2 separate regions of the Homo sapiens genome follow, and region 2 is linked to region 1. Evidence: promoter capture Hi-C in 16 types of primary human blood cells and fetal thymus (Javierre and others, 2016). All regions are on one chromosome and are shown on one strand. Each heading gives the region's core, a stretch centred on a gene start or on the middle of the fragment in contact. The rest is flanking DNA. Distances are from core to core; before and after follow the strand shown.

Evidence for each region. The method cuts DNA at HindIII sites, captures the fragments that hold promoters and counts their contacts. A CHiCAGO score of 5 or more calls a contact.
Region 2: a fragment that was not itself captured here is called in contact with the fragment with the promoter of OSBPL3 in region 1 in 1 of 17 cell types (M0 macrophages); the score reaches 5.4 in M0 macrophages.

Annotation. Positions count from the first base shown.
Region 1 is chr7:24,978,419-24,981,835 of GRCh38, forward strand. It overlaps OSBPL3 (oxysterol binding protein like 3), which reads right to left and starts at 1,760. Exons shown (of 23, transcript NM_015550.4): 1 at 1,468-1,760. RefSeq lists silencers at 1,150-1,359, 1,410-1,919 and an enhancer at 3,060-3,229. The HindIII fragment of the contact is 2,254 bases long and covers 1,068-3,321 here.
Region 2 is chr7:24,706,446-24,709,789 of GRCh38, forward strand. GSDME (gasdermin E) reads right to left here. Exons shown (of 10, transcript NM_001127453.2): 7 at 1,682-1,809. Among named protein-coding and RNA genes, the nearest start is that of GSDME, 49 kb to the right of the region's middle. The HindIII fragment of the contact is 1,593 bases long and covers 455-2,047 here.

The sequences.
Region 1 (3,417 bases), core at 510-3,009:
ACTTACATCCTAATGAGGGAAGGCAGATAACCCAATAACCCAAAGAGACAATTTCAGAGAGAAATTTAAGTGCTATGAGCAACAGCAAACGGGTGATGTGGCTTGGCTGGAGGGGATGGTCATTTAGCTTGGATGCATAAGAACCTAGGCCTGCTTGACTGATCTCCTTTAGCCAAGTATAGTCCTTTAGCCAAGGACCTCACCTTGTATGATACTTGCGGGGTACAGTGCAGATGATGAGAAGCCAGGCCTTCGCTTTCACCCATCTGTGGAAGTATCTCTTTTGCAGCTGTAGTTTAAAATATTTCTAAATGCCCTCATCCCAATACTCAAACTCTGAGGGTCAGAGCAACACCTAGGGGGTCTCAAGCACCTCTGCGCAGTACGCAGACACATGGAAACCGACAACTTCACAGTCCCCTCAGCTCCAAGAGTCCCGACTGAGGAGACTGGTGGCTTGTGAGGCGGAGAAGGACAAGCACAAGTGTGCAGAAGGCAGCAAGCAAGTTGCGTTGCCGAAGGAAGGGCGGCGCGCCCCTGCTTAAGAAGTATCTGGACGACCTGCGACAGTGCCCATCAGCGACTCCAGAGGCCACAAACGCTCCCCGGGAAGCTGGGCAGCGCTAAGAGGCTGCCTGGGAGTTTCTGGCTTATGATGACAGTACTTAAAGAATTTACCTGACCACGGAATAAACAGAGACAGAGGTAGGAAAACCCAACTGTAGACAACGTTCAGACAGAGTGCATAAGTCCCTAAGACCCTGAACTAAGACGCTGCAGGGCCTCCAGGAAAGGACCAATGTGAGAGACACTGAGACGAGAGTTAGGGTGAGCCTGAAGGTGATCTGAACAGTAGTAATTGGAAACTAACAAAAAAAAAAAATTCCAGAAGGGGCCAGAAAGCTGATGAATATGTAAATTCAGACAAGAAAGGAATGTGCCCTGGGCCTCCAGCCCAGCACCGGGGAGCTGAGCAAGCCGGGGTTGGGAAGGCGGGCGAGCGGAGCGCCTGCCCCGCGAGCGTTGTCTCAGTCTCTCCGGCGCGCCCCATCCCGCGGATGTGGTAAAGCTTCGCGCTCGCCCCAATTTACCAGGCTTCCTGAGCCTCTAGCCCCGGCGTAGCGCCTCCCCGCTGCCCAGGACAGCTCCGCGCGCCGCGTCCTCCCGCACCTGCGCCGCGGCCCCTGCGCTCGGCTCCTCCTGGCGGTCAATCCTCTGAGCCGTCCCTCGAGGGAAGGTGTCCTGGGGTGGGTGAGACCCGGGTCCTCCTTCCCCGGGAGCTGCAGCCGGCACCCAAGCTCCCAGGCTTGGGTCTGCCCCAGGGCCGGAGCCTCCCCGGGCGACTCGGACAGACCCCGGTCCGGCAGAGAACCGCGGCGCCCCGCAAACAGCAGCCCTTCCGAGCCCGCGCCGCCGCCAGGCCCCCCGACACCCAGGCCCCATTTAGGCGGGCGCCCCGCCACTCACCTGAGCGCTGTGCAGCCGGAGACGCTCCCTAGTTCCCCGGGGCCGGGCTCCGGGGTTAGCGCACAGAACCGGGAGAAGGCAACCCCGGCTTCTCCGGTACCCCCGCAACGTGCAGCTGACAGCTCCCGCACCGGCCGCAGGAGTCGGGGGCGGGGATGGCCACTTGCAGACAGACTGCGGGGCCGGAGCCGCGCTGCGCACCGGCCGCGAAGCGCTCAAGTCCCCTCTCCCGGGCCGGCTGGCGGGCGCCACCAGCACGCGGCCAGTTCTGAGTACTTTGCCCAGAACTTCTCGGCGCGCGCCGCCCGGCGATTAGCCCGAGGAGCCGCGCAAGGGCGGGAGCGCAGGGGAGGGGCCTGAGAGGCCCAGGGGCGGGGCCCCGAGGGGGCGGGAGGGCGGCAGAGTGATGCACAATCTCACCAATCAGAAGTCGCCTTTCGGGAAGGAGGTGGGGCGATGTCCTCGGAAGAAGCCAGCGGATTCCATGACGCGGCGGGGGAACTAGGGACCCCGGATTCCGGATGGGTTGGGAGGGCGGAGGGAGGCGAGTCCTGCGGCGAGGCACTGGGTGGGGCTCCCGGTGGCCCAGCTCGGTGCCTGCGCGCGGTAGGCGTTCGGTAAATGTTCCTCTAGTGGCTTTTCCGGGCCAGGGAAGGAGGAAAAAGTGAGGGCAGCGCGGGAGGGGCAGGTTTACGGAGAAGGCTCCAGGGGACCCTTGCGGTCGCACAGGCTAGGAGAACTCGACCTCCCGAGAAAGTCAGACTGTGGCAGAGGAGTCGAGAACAGAGGAAATACATAGGGAGGCAGCACTCTAGGCACGAGATGACAAAGGACAGCATCAGTGTGAGACCCGGGGCTCGGAGACCGTGACCCTACCTCCAGAGGCAGTCGTGCAGATTCGTGCCGGGGTGATTTTGTTCTGTGCAGTTTATGTGCAAGGGGGTAGGAGGTGGGGAGAGCACCGTCGTTACTATTAAATCTCCCTGAAAGACGGAAAAGTCCACCCGACTTGACTTCCCACTAGCCCAATGGCCTTCTTTGATCCTAGGACGAATGCAAGCAGCTGATGGTTTGGGGTCAGTTTGCAGACTGCAAATGTGTCGAGTGCCGCAGGTGGCGGGTGGGAAGGGCATGAGCATTTAGTGAGCACCTAGTATATGCCAGGAGCAGTTGCGAGCTTGCAACTGTGAGAAAGGCGCACCAGGCTCCAGTACTCACGGGGCTTGCATTTTTTGTGGAAAGACAGACAATAAAGAAGAGAAAATACATATCTATGCAAAAAATAAAAGGCTGACAGACTGTTAGTACTGAGAGGAGGGCCAAGTCCACTTTCGAAAGTGGTTTAGCGCGTGATGGGGCGCTCACCCTGAGGGCCTCTAGGCGAGGGTGGCTTTTACCCAGATTCCTGAGCCTGGGAAAGGAGCTGCCACACCCAGTCTCGCACAGAGCGTTCCAGGCGAAGGGAATAGCAAATACAGGGTATTTAGCCTCCCTGAAGACCCAACTAACCGACCTCACCGAGCTGGGCACCGCGCGTGGCTCGCTGGGCTCAGCGCCTGGGACGGAGTAAGGGCTCCACAGTGTTAAATCCCCCTGCCAACCACCACCTGCAGCGCTCGACGCATTTTCAGTCTCCAAACTGACCCCAATTCAAGGTTTCTGAGACTCTTTCCGGAGCTATTCTGTTCACATTTCATTCACCACGCTCAGATCTTCGCTTTCTGGAACCATCCCCCTCGCGAAATGTCTGGGACTGTCTGTTTCGGATCTGGCAGGCGGCGGGCGAGGGCGGGAGGCGCCAGAGATGCTGCCGAGCAAATCCACTGTCATGCTGCCCACGTCGGCACACGGAGAAGCTTATTGGAGAAGATTTCAAATCGAATGACTCCGCGGTTCCTAAACCACCTCGCAAAGCCCGACCAGCGCCAGGTGGCTGGACGGGTAGTGGAA
Region 2 (3,344 bases), core at 1-2,500, 270 kb before region 1:
CACAGTACACACAAGCCCCAGCCCTTCCCACTCCCCCGAGGAAAGTACGACCCGCAGCTCTTCTCTACGTTCTGAAATTGCTAATCCTTGGTGGCTACATTTCACTGACGGGACAGTAAGCTGAACCTGGCCCACGAGGGTTGGGGGCGTACTTGCTGGAACTGTGGCATAGAACCTTCCAGGGCAGGGTCTGTTGGGTAGTGCCAGGGACCAGAAACAAGTGGTTACACACAGAACTGGGGAGGGCGATGTTCAAGCATCGTCTTGTCTTGGTTCTCATGCGTTAAGCTAGGCGCTCCAGCCCCCGGCCACATTCCCACCGGGCACTGGGCAGCTGCATCTGTCCCCACAGAGCCTGCTGTGGAGTGAGGCGACCCTGCTGGAGAGCCAGTTCGGACCACCCCGCCAATTCTGCACCACCCACAGCCTTGGTGTCCAGATCCGATCATCTGAAAGCTTGACCCCACCCTCGCCACCAGCCGGGCAGCTTGCTTCTCCAGCATTTGACAGGGCAGCTGAGGCTCTCTCCACAGGGTGCTGGCCTGACATTTTCCTCTTGGAAGAAGTTATTTTCGGAAGTAGAAGTCAATGGGCTTTTTAAAACACTGTTCTCCCTGGAGCTGAGCTCCCCACCCTCTAGAATGCAAATGTCCTGGGCTGTGGGACTGTTTCAATAACAGGTTCCATCACTGATACCCAGGCTCTTTCGGCACAATCTAATTTCAAGAGAGAAAAATAATATGAACACTTCCCTGGAAACCATAAAGCACTAAATCAGTTATTCAAACTCCCTGCATAATATAATAGAAAAACAAAAGAACAAAAAACAAAACTGTAGTCAAAATCAGGTTTATAAAGCCTCAGCCTTAAGAAAGGGAGGACACAGAATCTGGGTGGCTGGAGGGTTGGCAGCTTGTGTGGCTCTCACCATTTGTACAACTAAGAGTTAAGGAACTTGACCTCCCCAGGATATCCTTCTGCTGCAAAACACAACAGTGCAAAAGCCTATTTATTTCTCTGTTCTAAATGGAACAGGCTGACTTTATAGATTCCACCACACGACCCCCTTGCAGTAGTCTGAGTAGTGGCCCACCAACATATGTTACCTGGAACCTAAGAACGTGACCTTAGTCTTTGCAGATGTAATTAAAGTAAGGAAATCAAAATGAGATCATCCTAGATTGGGGTGGGCCCTAAATCCAATGATGGTGTCTTTATAACAGACAGTAAAGGAGAAGACACACACACACACACAGAGGGGAAGCCCACATGGAGACAGAGCAGAGGCTGGAGTGCTGCTGCCATGAGCCAGGAACACTAGGAGCCATCCGCAGCTGGAAGGAGACAAGGCAGCAGAATTCTCTCCTAGATCCTCTGGGGGAAGTGTGGCCCTGCAGACACCTAGACTTTGGACTTTTGGGCTCCAAAACTATGAGAGAATAAATTCCTGGTTTTTTAAGCCCTCAGGTTTGTTGAGGCAGCCCTAGGAAATTAACACCTCCCTCCACCCGATGCCAGCTACCTGTCTGCACTTAGAAAACGCAGGACCCAAGAGTCAGAAAAGAGACAGCTGTAGGGAGAAAAGGAGGCGGGGGAACCTTTAACACAATTCCATCCTGCCTCCTCCCCTGTTCCAGAAAACCCCAGTGAAAACACTGCCTTGAGATGTCTCAGGGCTCACCACTGGTTCCAGGACCATGAGTAGTTCATCATCAAATAGGACCGCCTGGAAGATGTCACTCAAAGCTGTCTGTTGTGGCTCAGGCAGCTCCGCAAATGGATGGAAATTCCTCTCCAGGAGCAGGGTCGCTGTGAAAACAAAGCACACCCAAGTCTCATGACTGCGATGCACATCTCACGACGTCGGACAGCAACTCCTGCTTTTTATACCTAATCGTCATCAGTTCTTTCATGGATATTCCCAGCTGCATAGTCAGTCATGGAACTCAGAAATAAACATCAAGTTACAAGCCACCCTGCATATTTTTCAATAACCAAAGGGAGGGAGGAGAGAGAGAGAAAGAGGGAAGCCAAGTTTTGTATTTCAAGCTTCACTCTTCTCTGATGACTCACTAAACATTAAGTCTAATCAATTATTTTCTGGAAAAGTTATTTAAATTCTTCTTTAGCATGACTTCTCTAGAAGTAAATTATCAAAGCTGAATTACTAAACAAGTCAGTGCTTTTACAATGCTTTAGAGCCATACAAATTCCAAAATACATTATTTTTCACGTCCTTTCTTGTAGTACATTGCAGATTTTCTATCCTTTAATATTTAATGCCCATTTTTAAAGGGGCTGGCACCCTATTTTCATGGCAAGCACAGCTATTCTTTCTCTATCCTTTGCTTCTTCATGAGTCCTCAAGCTGAGCACTGAGTCCCCGAAGCTATTGCCTCTGCAGGATGCTTAGGGGCCTCTCCCCTTAGAATCTCTTTTCCTTTCTTTGTTTTTTGGTTTTTTTGTTTGTTTGTTTGTTTTTAAGATACTCAGAAGCTTCTTGTAAATTAAGTCTAGTGGAGATTTTATTTTTAAAGATTTGATAAAGGTTTCGTATGCAGGGATGCACACTAATACATCAATGTACCACCCATGAGGATGGACGATTCCAACTAGCAGTTGTATAAAGCCCCACGCAGAGGAACACAGAACATCAGTAACCAACATATTTCAAAACTCTGCTATACACACAACTGTCTTTACCAGTCCCAGCCTGAAGAGAGAAGCTGTCCTGGTCGGTCCAGTCGCACACCCAGCTCCCACTGCACCCCTGCTGACCAGAATGGCCAACTCGAAGGGTGGGCCTGTGGGCAGGACAGAAGGAAGCTGCAGCACGGGACTGCCTTCTGCTACCCAGTGGCTGCAGGGCCATTTTGCTGTGGTTCTAACCCACAATGACAAAATCCTTCAAGTGGCAGCTGAAAATTGCACCCACTTATCCATCTCAAGGAAGCCAAGATAGGAAAGCCTTATATTAAAATTGGGCCTTTGTTGTCATTTCTTCAAATACGGACATTTTTGCTACAAAAGCATCCTGGTTTGGGACTCATCGAAGCTCCACAGATGTAGTCACCAGGGCTTCTGTGCTTACCCTCCAAGCCAGCGCGCACACGGAGCGGTTCCTAGCTCTTTGTGCTAAGCTCTCACCTATTTGTTTCTCCTTTTCCTTGCCCATCTCCTCCTATATGCTGCGCCCCCACATCCCCGACAAAAGAAACCAGCTTTCTAAAGCACAATACGCTGTGAGGAGCAAAAGGAATTGCTGCAGGCACATCCTGGGCATGGCCCCTCTTCCTCTTTGGCACCATGCAGTCCATGCCATGTGGATAAAGAGCCTCCAAGAG